2 separate regions of the Homo sapiens genome follow, and region 2 is linked to region 1. Evidence: promoter capture Hi-C in 16 types of primary human blood cells and fetal thymus (Javierre and others, 2016). All regions are on one chromosome and are shown on one strand. The core of a region is centred on a gene start or on the middle of the fragment in contact, and the rest is flanking DNA. Distances in the headings are between cores, read along the strand shown.

Region 1 (7,695 bases), core at 1,336-3,835:
TTATCATTGCAAAATTATACTTGCACACTGGGATCCCTTTTCCTAGCCTGAACTGGAACTCCCACAATCCTCAGGGCTCACCACTCCCCATTTCCCTCAATCAGAAGAGTCCCCAGGGTCCCTGCAGGACATCATTCACCCTCCCTTCTCCCTCAGTACCCAAACTAGAGGGAGAAGTAAATTTATGGCCCTGGAAGCAATAAAAAAAAAATCAACTTTTATGTGATGCATACCTTATATATAGCTATTTAATCCTTAGAACAGTTCTACAATGTCATTATTATCTCCACTTCAACATCAGAAAAACAGAAACCTAAATCCACTGTTAATAAACAAGACATCTGAGTTCTGAATCCACAATTCTCCAACTACAAAGCCAGTTCTTTTTCAACTGTGCTCTTGTCACTGATACCCAGAATTTCTTATTACGCCTAATAAAACCCAAGCGTGAATAATGACTTGGGTTTAATGACTAAAAGCTATTAAATGTTGCTACTTATTAAGATAATATACGTTAAAGTGGCAAATAGCATTTTATATTTACAACACGGGAACATTGAATAGACTGATAATAACATGTTAAACTGGAGTAAAATAGATGCCCTCACGCCATGTTATACACTGGTGCCACCTTAAAGAGGGTAAATTAGAAATTTATATTAGCAGAATTTAATAATATGAGCCAGATGTTTCAGTAATCCCACTCCTATGACCCTGTCTAAGGAAAATAATTATATATGTTCACTAGGATATATGCAGACAGGTGCAGATAGACTAATTTTAAAATGGAAAAAGCTAGATACAAACATAAATTAGACTTCAATAAAGAACAGGTTAAATAAATTCTAGTGTATCCATATAATAGAAAATAAAGTAGCCATCAGAAATAATATAGATTGGGAGTCTGCAAACTTTTCCTGCAAAGAACCACATAATAAATATTTCAGGCTTTGTGGGCCAGCTGGAGGATCCCTTGAACCCAGGAGTTCGAGACTGCAGTGAGCTATAACTGCACCACTGCACTCCAGCCTGGGTGAGACAGTGAGAGCCTGTCTCTTTAAAACAAACAAATACAGTATCTGCAAAGTGCAATAAAATGATGCACAATAAAATGAGGTATGCCTACATTATCATTAATGTTGACGCGAATATCTTCAAACAAGAGGGAAGAAAGTGCATTTGTCTATAAAAGGGCAACACAACAGATCCTCGAGGTGATGGAAATGATCTATCTTGACTATCAATGTCAACATCCTGGTTGTCATATTATACTACAGTCCTGCAAGATGTTGTCATTGGAGAAGACTAAGTTGAAGATAACACACAATGTCTCTATTATTTCTTACAACCTCATATGAATCTACAATCATCTCAAATTTAAAAAAAAATTTAAGGAAGTTTTAAGAATTTCATTTTCAAATATTTGCTAGATGAATTAAGTTTTTACCCCCTTCAAATCTTGAAGGCAAATTAATGCTCCAGGTTGTACTGTTCAATAGGAAGACTATTAGCCATATATAGCTGTTTACATTTAGATTTATTAAAATTGAACACAATTTAAAAAATTCGTTCCTCAGTCAAACCAGCCACATTTCAATTTCTCAATAGCCATATGTAGCTAGTGGCTACTATATTGGAGAGCACAGATATAAAAAATGGAACTCAGTTTTGCAGAAATTCCTATTAAAAAGCATTGTTCCAAAGCGTTACACGACTGACACCCTCACTTTACAGGTGAGAAAACTGAAGCCAGGAGATATCACTATAATACAGCGCTGCACACAATCGTGCTCATTCTCACCATATTATGCTCACACACTTCTTTCCCCACATTCACTGCCACAGGCGAACTCTCAATGAATCATTCACTACATTTATATAATTTCATGGGAATCTATTTTAAATTCATGACCATGCAAAGAAAAATCAATTTCTTACAGGTTATAAGATACTCAGTCGCAGGCTGAATCTGATTAAACAGACATCAGTCACCCTCAAAGCTATAATCAAACCATTCCCAAGACCCTTCCGCACACAATACTAAATGCGCCACTAATAGCCTCAAGCATAATCTGACGCACATCACACAGGCATGGCCACTACCCACTCTGCACCCACAGAGGACACTCGGACACGCGCGCGCACAGACCCACACACACACGCACACACACACACATGGCCGCAAAGAATGCGTCACACTTCCGAACCCCGTTGAGCAGCAACCCGGTATCGTGGCCACTGCGTCACGGCCAGAGCTGTCAGAGAGAAATCCAGACCTTACCTGACAGCCTTTTGCAGCTCTTCTAGCCCGGGATGACATTCCCCTGAAGGCACCACGGCAAGACTCAACCTCTTTGTGTGAGATTCTCTGGAATTTCTGGGGCGTTACTTGAGTATAATGAAATAGGGTAGGCTCGGACCATAGTAGGGTAAGTCCCACAGTTCGAGCAAGGGAGCCTCAGGGATCGTTCTGTTCTGGAGCGCCGGACCCGATCTTAGCTGCTGGGCCTGCGCAGACACGATCCGGCCGGTTTCCAGTTGTAGACTACATTTCCCGAAGGCCCCCGCGTCGCTGCGCAACGTCGTACACTTACGCTGTTATGTCTTGACGCACGGAGCTTGTCTGCGCCGGCCAGGTGAGTGGGCGGCCTCACCGGGAACCGCTCGCAGCTTTTGGGTTGCTTCATCGAAAAAGTAGTTCTTGTATGGTGCTGGGAATACCGGTGTCCTGGCTGGGGCTCGGTGCTGACAGGAACGGGACGGTGCTCTGGCTAATTACTTATGGAAGTCGGCCTTGCGCTTGCGGAGGGGTGTCGGCACCGTCACTTTGGTTCTGGCAGTGGCGGGGGTGTGGTGCTGCTAGTTGTGTTCCTCCGCACCGAATTTATGAGTGTGCCCCTGGAGCCCCTGCCGCGGACAAAATCGGCACCATAACTTTGGGATAGGGAGGCTAGAAGGAGGCGGGTGTTACTAGTAGTGTTCCTCCGCCCTGGACGTGTGCGTGTGCGCTTGTGCGGCCGCGGGGTGGGCTCACCTGCCGCCTGTTAATGCTCCTAGCGCTTGGCCCCTCCCGGGCCGCAGTACTCCTCGTGTGACACGGACATCATTAAGCCAGCTGAGAATCGTGCGGTTACAGCTGCTGCAGTTTCTTTGCAGAGTAAGAGGCTCTTTTTGAAGTTTCCCTGATGGTGAGGCTTTACCCCTGGAAGTGTCTTAGGAAGAAGACCACTGTTAAAGATGTCCTATTCTAGCTTGACAGCCCTGTGGGGAAGACTAATCCCTTTCTAGAGGTTGGTGTTATCCTAAATTGTTTCGTCTGCTCCGAGAGCTCTGATGTTCTATGATGCTTATTTCTTTTCTCGGTTCTGCGTTTTCCAAGAGAGGCACCCAGAGGAAAAGAATATCGCACTTCTGAAAGTCTTGTGTGAAGTTCCTGTTTTCTTTCTAACCTCAAATTTCTTCCTTTCCGAAACGTTTTCTACCTCCAGCAACATCTTCCTAAGGAAGAACCAGCCATGCTAGTGACTGGTCCTTAGGCACCCCATAAATGATGCTGCGGGGATGGGATCATCAGTTTAGCTCTACTCCCCAGCCACACTACACCTCTCCTTTCCACCCAATGATACAGCAGTCCTTTCTGGTCTAAGATTTTTTTGTTTGTTTGTTTGCTTTTTGAGACGGATTCTCGCTGTGTCGCCCTGGCTGGAGTGCGGTGGTGCGGTCTCGGCTCACTGCAAGCTCCGCCTTCCGGGTTCACGCCATTCTCCTGCCTAAGCCTCCCGAGTAGCTGGGACTACAGGCGCCCGCCACCATGCCCGGCTAATTTTTTGTGTTTTTAGTAGAGACGAGGTTTCACCGTGTTAGCCAGGATGGTCTCGATCTCCTGACCTCGTGATCCACCCGCCTGGGCCTCCCAGAGTGCTGGGATTACAGGCGTGAGCCACCGCGCCTGGCCTGGTCTAAGGTTTTGATGAAAAATAACTGTACTTTCTGGGGGAAATTTGAAGAGTTTTAAAATTTTAACTTTATTGTGGATGTTTTCAAGCAGGCTAAAGAATAATACGAACCCCAACATGTTCAACACCTAGCTGTAATTAAAAACATTTGTAAATACCTTTGTATCAATCCTTCCCCGTTTTTTCCTATAGTATTTCAAAATTGTATTTTATCCTCTTATAAGCATATATTACCAAAAAGGACATTATATTTTAAAATAACCATGATGCTGTTATACCAACATAAAAAAAAAAACTAACAATAAGTTTAAAACAATAAATTTGTTTCTTATGTTGGTGTAACAGCGTGGTGGTTATTTCATAATCTTGTATACCCCCATATTCAGATTTTCCCAATTATTTCAAAGACATATTTTTACAATAGGTGTGTTCAAATCTGGATCCAGATAGAGTCCACACATTGCATTTGGTGGCCAAACCTGTTAAACTTACTTAATGCATGATAGTTTCCCTCCTGTGTTTTGTTTTGGTTTAATTGGTGCTGTTGATTTGTAGAAAAACTAGATCATCTGTCCCGTAGAATATTCTGTATACTGCTTTTAGCTAATTGCTTCTTTGTACTGTCTTATAATTTGTTTTCCGTTCCTTCATATTTCTGTAAACAGGCAGTTAGATCTAGAGGTTTGATGGAATTTGGATCAGATTTTCCCTAAATCACCTTTAATTCATAGTTGGTGCTGTGTACTTCCTATTACATCACATCATGAGGCCCTTACAGTCTGATGTCCCACTTTCAGTGATGTCATATTGATGTGTTTAAATGCTGTCCATTTAATCCTTTCCTTTTTTTCACCTAAAGCATGCATTCTCAATGAGGGTGGAGGATATCACCTTCCAAGTGGGTGAAACTTGGTTTTTGAGAAGGAAGAGGACAAAAACTCATAGGTATTACAATGATCTGTGGTCCTCCAAAGGGCCACAGTACATAAACATATATACAGTATATCTATGGTAATAAAATTTCATGAGAGTGGTGGCTATTAGAGAAAAGTATCTAAAAAGGTTCCTAGGGATATGACCGTGAAAAATTTTAGAAGGATTGAGAAGCACTGACCTAAAGGTTATAACGTCCACTTATGATTGATACCAAGATCCATTCTTTATTTTTTTTTCCTCACTCTGTCGCCCAGGCTGGAGTGTAGTGGTGTGATCTCAGCTCACTGCAGCATCCACCTCCCAGGTTCAAAAGGTTCTTCTGCCTCAACCTCCCGAGTAGCTGGGATTACAGGCATGTGCCACCACACCTGGCTAATTTTTGTATTTTTAGTAGAGACGGGGTTTCACCATGTTGCCCAGGCTGGTCTGCAACTCCTGACCTCGAGTAATCCACCCACCTCAGCTTCCCAAAGTGCTGGGATTACAAGTGTGAGGCACCGCGCCTGGCCCATTCATTAACAGTTATATATGGTGATTAAAAAAAAATTCTCTCAATTCCTCCTGTATTCATTAGTTACAGTTCTTCTATATATAAGAACTTTTTTTCATCAAGTATTTGGTTATCTTAAAATACGGTTCATGGCCATGTGTGGTGGCTCACGCCTGTAATCCCAACACTTTGGGAGGCCGAGGCAGGCGAATCACCTGAGGTCGGGAGTTTGAGGCCAGCCTGACCAACATGGAGAAACCCCGTCTCTACTAAAAATACAAAATTAGCTGGGCATGGTGGCACATTCCTGTAATCCCAGCTACTCGGGAGGCTGAGGCAGGAGAATCATTTGAACCCGGGAGGCCGAGGTTGTGGTGAGCCGAGATTGCGCCATTGCACTACAGCCTGGGCAACAAGAGTGAAACTCCATCTCAAGATAAATAAATACAGTTCATATGGAAAGGCAGAGTAATTGATTTGATTCTTTCCCTTTATATATTTTCAGAGAAATGAGTTGGTGCCCTACAACCTTCTAAGGAGTCCCAAAAGGGAGTGTCTGTTTTGAATACCATATGTTTCGAACTATTGTGATCATTATTCTTTTTTATATCAAACTGCTCTTTTTTAAGCCAGTGGTAGTCCTTTCCAGGCAGTTCTGTGTCTTTCTGTCATGATTCTAGTAGAGTTGATAGCTTATTTGCTTTCTGGCAGAACAAATGATCCCAAGATCAACTTCTACATTTCCTGTGCCAGCCCTGAAATGAGCCATTTCTCTAAGGAGTTCTGATTCCTCTTGTGGTATACAGTGTACAGTGACCACTGTCTGGGCATTAGAGTTTCTCATTGCCATAAGGCTGTCGTTTATTCTAGGCCATTTCAGGGAACAAAGCTAATAACTTGTTTTTAAAGTATAAATCATGAATCATGAATTTATAATAATAGTTCAGACAAATTACAGAGTATTTTCTTGTTTGATTTTATACTTGTATCTCTGTTTTATGCTAACAATCTTGGTTGCTAAAACATTAATATAATTTACGTTCTTTATTCTAAAATATAATTGTTTGAAAACAACAGTAACTGTCACTACTGTTAAGATAGAGAATGCATTTTAGATTTCTTTTGGTTTTTATGTTTTGCTATATTTAAGGTTCATGGATTACATTTGGTTATGCCTCTTTAGTCTCTTAATTAAAAATCAGTACTCACATAGCATTGGTTTTTTAAAATTTTTATTTTGATATAATATTACACTTACAGAGAAGTTGCAAAAATAATAGAAAAAACTGTCCTATGTCCTTACATATTTACCAGTTTTTAACATTTTGCTTTTTTGTTTGCTAATTCTCTCTACATATATACTTCTGAACTACCTGATAGTAATTTTCAGACATCATTTTCCTTTATCTATAATTATATTAGTGTATTTTCTGAGCACAGGGGACTATAACTATAGTTCATTTATTAAAATGAAATGTAGCAGAGATGTAATAATTGTCTAATCCAGAGTTCATAGAAAAATTTCACCAATTGTTACAATTTTGTCCTTATAGCTTTTTTTTTCTTCTTCTTTTTTTTGAAACGGAGCCTCACTCTGTCCCCCAGGCTGGAGTGCGGTGGCGAGATCTTGGCTCACTGCAAGCTCCGCCTCCTGGGTTCACGCCGTTCTCCTGCCTCAGCCTCCCAAGTAGCTGGGACTACAGGTGCCCACCACCACGCCCAGCTAATTTTTTTTTATTTTTATTTTTTTTTACTAGAGACAGGGTTTCACTGTGTTAGCCAGGATGGTCTTGATCTCCTGACCTCGTGATCCACCCGCCTTGGCCTCCTGAAGTGCTGGGATTACAGGCATGAGCCACCGCATGCCCAGCTCCTTATAGCCTTTTTTTGCCCCTTATCTGGCGTCCAATCCAAAATCATATCTAGGATCAAACATTTAATTTAATTAAATCATCTCTTTAGTCTCTTTTAATGGAAAACAATTCCTGGACTTTTCTTTGATCCTTTGTGATCCTGACTTTTTTGAAAACTACAGGCCTGTTATTTTGTAGATTGTTCCTCAGTTTGTATGTGTTTGATGTTTCCTCATGATTCAATTCAAGTGTGCTTTTTTTTTTTTTTTTTTTTTTTGAGATGGAGTCTTGCTCTGTTGCCCAGGCTGGAGTGCAGTGGCGCGATCTTGGCTCACTGTAACCTCCAACTCCCGGGTTCAAGCAATTCTTTGCCTCAGCCTCCCAAGTAGCTGGGATTACAGATGCCCGCCACCACGCCTGGCTAATTTTTGCATTTTTTTGTAGGAATACTGCTTCAGTT
Region 2 (7,695 bases), core at 2,217-4,716, about 19 Mb before region 1:
GAAAAACAAACTGTTTCTCCTACTCCACTCACACAACACAAAACAGTTCTAAGACCAGATGTGTGGGGATCTACACACACACACACACACACACACACACACACACACACACCAGGCAAGCAATAAGTTCTTCAGTGAATACCAGGTGGGTGACCTCTAGGGCAACCCAGTGAATACCAGGTGGGTGACCTCTAGGGCAACCCAATTCTGACACTATCTACCTGGAGACAGCATAAGATCCCACAGGTTGAGGGCTCAGCCCTACAAAATTGCTCCCCACTTCCAATGCCAGTTGCAAACCCCAGGTTGTTTTACTTGTGCTTCTGACTAGCTATAAATCGGGGTTCCTATGACCCCCTCCTTGCGTTCAATTAATTTGCTAGGGCAGCTCACAGAACTTAGGGAAACACGTTTGTAGTAATAAAGGATATTACAAAGGATGCAGGTGAAGAAATGCATAGGACAAGGTTATATAGGAAGGGGCTCATCCTACAGGAACCTCCAGTGTTCAGCTATCTGGAAGTTTGATGAACCCAGTCCTTTTGGGTTTTTATGGAAGCTTCATAATGTAGGCATGACTGGTTAAATCACTGACCACTGATGATCAGTTTAACCTGTGGCTCCCTTTCCTTTCCCTGGAGATTGAGGGATGGGGCAGGTAATCCCAACCCTCTAATCCTGCCTAGATTGTTCTTGTGACCATCCCTTACCGTGATCAACCTACAGGCTGCCAGCCCACCAATCATTAGCATGCAAAAAGACACTTAATACTTTGGAGATTCCAAGGATCTTAGAAGTCGTAAGCCAGGAAACATAACTTTGTCCTATACTTTGATCGCCTCCCTCTCTCTCACAAACTCATAACAACATAACCTAGTCTCACTCTTTGGACTCTCACAGTTTAGTCTCTTTCTCTCTCTCATACACACACACCAGCCTCTCAAGGAGCCTCACATAATGACTGGTCTTTCACACACAGCCACGTGCTCATCTCTCTCACACTCACTGGTCTCACGCTATGTTGTCTCTCACACACGAACACACCCTGGTCTCACACTCTGGTCTCTCTCAGTCTGTCAGACACACATAACACGGCCTCACACACTGACGGGTCTTTCACCCAAAACACCCATTTCTCACACTCACTGGTCTCCCTTTCACACATTAACATACCACAGTCTCACACTCTGTTCTTGCACAGTCTAGTCTCGCATACATGGTGATTCTTCTCTCTCTCGAACACACACCGGCCTCTCATTGAGCCTCACCCACCGACCGACCGGCCTTTCACACACAGGCACACGCCCATCTCTCACACTCACTGGTCTCTCACACTCCATCCAGCCCGTCTCACTCTCTCACACGAATACATCCTGGTCTCACGCTCTGGACACCTGGTCTGTTACACACTTACACACCCACACACCTCGCAACCTCTCACTGAGCTTCACACGCTCTCTTTCAAATGCAGGCACATCCCTATCTCTCTCACACTCACTGGTCTCTCACACTGGCCCGTCTCGCTCTGTCACACACGAACATACCCTGGTCTCACACTGGACTCTCGGTCTGTCACACACACACACACACACACACAGAAACCACACCCTCTCACGGAGCCTCACACTCTGACAGATCTTTTACACACAGGCACACCCCCATCTCTCCCACAGCTCACTCCAGTGGTCCCGCCGCCCCAAGCCGCCCCGAACGCCCAGCAGCCCCGAGCCGCGGCCTCCGCCCCGCAGACTCGAGTACGCGCGCCCCGCTGGCCTCTGGGAAATGTAGTCGTCCTGGGGACAGAGGACGCGGCTGGGCCTTCGCGACCCGCGTCGGAGCCGCCCGCCTCGCCTGCCCTTCCTGGCCCAGCCCTCGAGCTCGGACTCCCAAACCACCCAAAACAAACCCCCGGCCTCGTCTGGCACCCAGACGCTCTCATCCGAAGGACTCCGTGAGTCGACGCTGGAACCCCCCATCGCGCAGGCGCCAGCCTCTCTCCAGGGGTCGGACGAGAGGGGCGGAGACAAGGCGTGGCCTAGTGTTGAGGGGATTGTCCTCGGGCTGCTGAAGGAGTGAGAGGGACCTTAGAGCAGAGCGGGCGGTGCCTGCGCAGTGCGTGATTACGCGAGCCGGGCGTGGCCCAGGGTTCCGGCGGGTAAGAGCAGGAGTGTGCGCAGGCGCAAAGATTGCGCTCTCCCCCTCTCCTCGCCTAGAGACCAGAAGCGTCCCTAGTTACTAGTTCCTGGGGCCTGGGAGGGAAACGCGCGACGGCTGAGCCTTCGGTGTGAGTACGCGTGGGGCTTTGTGACGCTGTCTGTGCCTCTGTGATCGCGATGTCATTCGGAGCGCGGCCTTCTGTGCCAGTCCGTGGGAGTGTCATTATCTTTCTGTGTTAAGCTTATTTTGGAATAAGACAGCGACGAGGAACCCCGACCGTGTTGTGACTCTGGCGAATTAATACCTCTTTCAGCTGCAAATGGGAATGTCACTGATCAGAGGCAGTGAATAACACGACGTTTTTGGAACCAATCTGCTAGGCTTGAACCGCGTTCAGCCCCTTAACAAAATGGAAATGGTCCCCGTTTTAGGGGACTAGCCCTGACTAGGAGAACTGTAGAATTAGTATTGGAAGGTGAGACAAATAAGGAAAAGCAATTCAGGGGGATACAGCAGAGAAAAAAAAATCCCTGTCCTCTTATTATGTAATTTACTTTGAAGCGGAGAGAGACAAGCCACAAATTCATGAGTTAGATAAACAGTCTGATGAACAGTAAAAAGGGCTATGGAGAAATATAACTCAGAGAAGGTTGTATCGTATACATTTTTTCTATTGTCTCTTATAATGTCTTAACATGTCAAAAAAACCTGTCTGCAGCAGACACCAGCCAGGTGACCGCTACTCCAATTCAATTCTGACGCTACCTGGAAAACATCAGATCCTACAGGTTAGACAGCTCAGTCCCAAAAGACTGTCCCCCACTTCCCATGCCAATTCCAAACTCCAGATTGTTGTACCTGTGTTTCAGAGAGATGTGCTATAAATTGGGGCTCCCACAGCCGGCTCCTTGGGTTCCATTAGTTTGCTAGAGCAGCTCACAGAACTCAAGGAAACACTTATGTTTACTGGTTTATTATAAAAGATATTTTAAAGGATACAAATAGCCAGATGAAGAGACATGTAGGGCAAGGTCCGAGAGAATCCCTAGTGCAGGAACTTCTGTGCCCGTGGAGTTGGGGTGCACCACCCTCCCAGCACGAGGATGTGTTTTTGTCTACCTTCTTGGAAGCCGCTTGAACTCAGGCCTTTTCGGTTTTCAAGGTTTCATTATGTAGATGTGATTGATTAAATCATTGGCCACTGGCGATCAACTTAATTTTCAGGCTCTCTCTTTTCCCAGAAGTAGAGGGTGGAGCTGTGAGTTCCAGTCCTCTGAGCACATGGCTGGTTCCTCTGGCAACTAGCCACCACTCCCCCCAAATATTGGGATTATCTTGAGAGTTTCCAAAAATCACCTCATTAACATAAACTCATGTGTGGTTGAAATACTGTCTTTCACCTTTATGGCTCTGGAGCTGTTCTGGAGCTTTTTCAGGAACCAGGAACAAAAGGCCAGATATTTTAACAAAAGATACTTTATTGCTGCAGTCATTTAGGAAATTAAAAGAGCTGTAGGAACTGAGAGCCATGAACTGTACCTTTCTTTCTAACTCCACATTCAGTGATGTCATATTGGTAGATTGAAATCCACCACAAGGGGACTATTTACAGTATGGAAATACAGTCTACATCGCTAAAGGATGGAGATACATTCTGAGAAATGGGTTCTTAGGCAATTTCCTAAGAACCTTGTTGTGCAAACATCATAGAGTGTACTTACACAAACCTAGATTGTGTAGCCTACTACACACCCACACTCACTCAGACTGGGACAACTTAGACATACCAGTTAACTTACTGTGCACATCTTTGGGATGTGGGAGGAATCTGGAGTACCCAGAGAAAACCCATGGAGACATGGTGAGACTAGTCAGATTGCATTAGGACCCACCCTAACGACCTCATTTCAACTTAATTAACTCTGTAAAAATCCTATATCCAAATACAGTCACATTCTGAGGTACTGGGAGTTAGGACTTCAACATGCAAAATTTGGGGCAGACAAAATTCAACCAATAACAAGAGATTATTTTGATTCTTCTGTCCTCATTCATCCCACCAAGGAAGTAAGGGGTATTTCCATTATCATACTATATATTAAATTATCATTACATTACATATATAATGTTTTCTTTATCTAATTTTTACTTTATATATACCACATTTTTGTTCATGGGCCATCAAAGGTATTATCTCACATAATTCTTGTAAAAATAAAATTGAATAACTAACTTTACAGTTGAAGATTTAAACAATAAGGGACTTTTTCCAAAGCCACACATCTAATAAGTTTCAAAGGTATTACTCTAATTCAAGTTTCTTCTTTCCAAATTCAGAACTCTTTCCATCCTGTAACAGTGCACTATTTTTAAGCTTAACTCCTTTCTGAAGAATATCAAATTTAACAACAGTGTTGGTGACCAGGTGAATTTGGATTACAAATTAATTTCTGGGACAGAATATGATATTCTCAACTTTTGGAACTTCAGGTGAGAGTTGACCAGTTTTCCCCACAGGCTCCATGTGGTCAACGTTATTTGTTTAGAATTGGAAATGGCCTTGTATGACACTGGATCCAACTTATCCTAGCTTGGGGTCAGCTTTATTAATTCTAACAAACTCTTTTTTGTTTGTTTTGAGAAAATGCAAAGTTTGTTTAATCTCTTCAGGTTTCACAACCAGTGGTAGCATAGTGAGTTTATTCACGCCATCATGTTGAATTTTATAAAAGAATCTTACATATGGTTGACTGCTAACATCTACTTGCTTAGTCCCTGAGATTTGCTTATATGGGATAGAGTAGGAATTCCTACAAAAAGAAAGAGAGGTCTGAAAGATAAAATTCCTGGAGTAGCACTGAGTCAGAGTCTCTGGCAGAATCCCAACAAACTCACAGTTCCTGATTTACAGCCCAGGGATTCTTAAACAGTGGTGCCCAAGTGTAGTAACATCATTTGATTGTCCAAACATTAGTTAGCCTCTTCCCTGCCTTATATTATAATGTTCTTCAGGGCAGAAATGACCCGTATCTTGTCCTCTGTTCCTTCTACAGTGTCTAAGTAGATGTCAAGCACATAGTGGGTTATCAATACATTTTGTTAAATGAATGAATTAAAGAAGGACAAGCTATAGCCAAAACTTTAATGGGAGTTTGATGTTTTTTGCCTTTTGCAAGAATCTTGAAGCAAGAAGAATGGATACATTTATTCTTATTATCTCTCTTTTTCATTTAAGATTGTTTACCTAGTGAGAAATCCCAGAGATATAGTTACTTTTGGTTATTATTTCTGGAGAATGAGGATGGTCAAAAATACGGAGTCATTTAAATAATATTTGGAATGGTTTCTTCAAGGATATGGTGAGTCTGACTCTAAATATGGGTTCTTGGCCAGGTGCAGTGGCTCACACCTGTAATCCTAGCACTTCGGGAGGTCGAGCTGGGAGGACTGCTTCAGCTCAGGAGTTTGAGACTGGCCTGGGCAAAATGGTAAGACCTCGTCTCTTCTAAAAATCAAAAAAATTAGCTGGACATGCTGGCCCATGCCTGTAGTCCCAGCTGCTCAGGTGGCTGAAGTGGGAGGATTGCTAGAGCCCAGGAATTCAAGGCTGCAGTGAGCCATAGTCACACCACTGCACTCCAGCCCAGGCAACAGAGCAAGACCCTGTCTCAAAAAAAAAATGGATTCTTCCAGGTGCAGTGGCTCACGCCTGTAATCCCAGCACTTTGGGAGGCTGAGGCAGGAGGATCACCTGAGGTCGGGAGTTCGAGACCAGCCTGACCAACATGGAGAAACCCTGTCTCTACTAAAAATACAAAATTAGCCGGGCGTGGTGGCTCATGCCTGTAATCCCAGCTATGGGAGGCTGAGGCGGGAGAATCGCTTGAATCTGGGAGGCGGAGGTTGTGGTGAGCCGAGATCACGCCACTGAACTCCAGCCTGGGCAGCAAGAGCAAAACTCTGTCTCAAAAAAAAAAAAAGGATTCTTGAAGGGGTAGTGGAGTTTCTGCACCTCAACAGGTATTACTGTCTCACAGTTTAAATGAATGTTGCCATCCAAACTTCTAAGTGTTGTTAAATATCCGATACCTCCAGTTAGCAACAGAAGCTCAGTCAACGTGCTTTGTCCATACAAATTATTCTAAGTACTATGAACATTAAAAAAGATAACTTATGACATTCAAAATAAGAGGAGTGTAATTCACACTACACTGAGATACCATTTCTTACCTATCATACTGAGAAGTGTATTCATTTTTTTATCTCCGCTGTAACAAATTACCATAAACATAGCAGTTAAAGCAAAACAAAACAAAAAAATTATGTTGTGTAGTTCAGAATTCCAAAATATACTTTATGAGCTAAAATTAATGTCTGGGCCTAGCTGCCTGCCATTCCTGAGGCTCCAGGAGAGAATCTACTTCTTGCCTTTGCTGGCTTCAAGAGCAGTGGTCCTCAACCATTTTGGCACCAGGGATGGGATTTCTGGAAGATGGATGGGGCAATGGTTTCAAGGTGAAACTGTTCCACTTCAGGTCATCAAGCATTAGTTAGATTCTCATAAGAAGCGTTCAACCTAGATCCCTCACATGCGCAGTTCACAATAGGGTTCACGCTCCGGTGAGAATATGCTGCCACTCATCTCACAGGAAGCAGAGCTCAGGCGGTGACGTTTGCTCGCTGCTCAACTCCTTCTGTGTGGCCTAGTTTCTAACAGGTCACAGACTGGTACCGGTCTGCGGCCCAGGGGTTGGGGACTCCTGTTCTACAGGCTGCCCTCATTTCTTGTCACAAGGCTGCATCTCTCTTGTCATCAGGTCTCCTTTGCTTCTTACACTTCAGCCTCCCTCCTATAATGACCCATGTGATTACAGTGCCTTCACCTGAATAGTCCATGGTGCTCTCCCTGTTTGAAGATCCTTTAATCACATTGGCAAAGTCATTTTTGCCATGAAAAGTAACAAATGAACAGATTTTGAGATTAAGACATGGACATCTTTGGTGTTGAGAGCGGTGGGGAGGCTCCTTCCTACCACACAGCTAGCATTCAAATTATTCAGATCACTCTAGTGGAGAGACCCTGGGTAGACAGGTATGCTCATATGTTGGCGGTTAGAAGGAAAATGACACAAGTCTGTGTAAGATAAGTTTGCAAATCCTCACATTCTAACACTTAAAATTTACATTTTCATGCAGAATTCCCCCTTCTCCAGTGAAAAAAGTATACAAGCAAAACCACGAAAAAGGTAGATTTACAAAACTATTCAAATGTTTCTTATTTGTAATAGCAAAAAAGAACCAAAATTCCCACCGACAATATCCTGGAACAGCACCCAACTTACAACAAGAATAAGGAATACTGCCACACCACTGCAGAGTGGCCTCTAGGATCCCCTGTTAACTTAAAAAGATTAAGGTATGGAACAAAGTTTGTGACTATTCTACCAATGAACCAAGACAGAGGACAACCCAGAAGACTGCACAGGGAGAGCAGAGCTGGCACAGCTTGGAGTCAGGGTTGGGAGTCAGGTGTGGTCA

What was found. The method cuts DNA at HindIII sites, captures the fragments that hold promoters and counts their contacts. A CHiCAGO score of 5 or more calls a contact.
Region 2: a contact is called between a fragment that was not itself captured here and the fragment with the promoter of ZNF571 in region 1, in 1 of 17 cell types (total B cells). The highest score is 5.3, in total B cells.

What each region holds. Positions count from the first base shown.
Region 1 is chr19:37,589,682-37,597,376 of GRCh38, reverse strand. It overlaps ZNF571 (zinc finger protein 571), which reads left to right and starts at 2,585. Exons shown (of 4, transcript NM_016536.5): 1 at 2,585-2,636. ZNF540 (zinc finger protein 540) reads right to left here and starts at 2,501. Exons shown (of 5, transcript NM_001172225.3): 1 at 2,282-2,501. RefSeq lists enhancers at 2,024-2,073, 2,304-2,423, 2,464-2,663, 2,260-2,942, 2,894-2,943 and 2 more. The HindIII fragment of the contact is 14,201 bases long and covers 1-7,695 here.
Region 2 is chr19:56,502,132-56,509,826 of GRCh38, reverse strand. It overlaps ZNF471 (zinc finger protein 471), which reads right to left and starts at 1,972. Exons shown (of 5, transcript NM_020813.4): 1 at 1,907-1,972. LOC124904776 (a long non-coding RNA gene) reads left to right here and starts at 6,077. Exons shown (of 3, transcript XR_007067352.1): 1 at 6,077-6,177; 2 at 7,354-7,403. The HindIII fragment of the contact is 2,134 bases long and covers 2,400-4,533 here.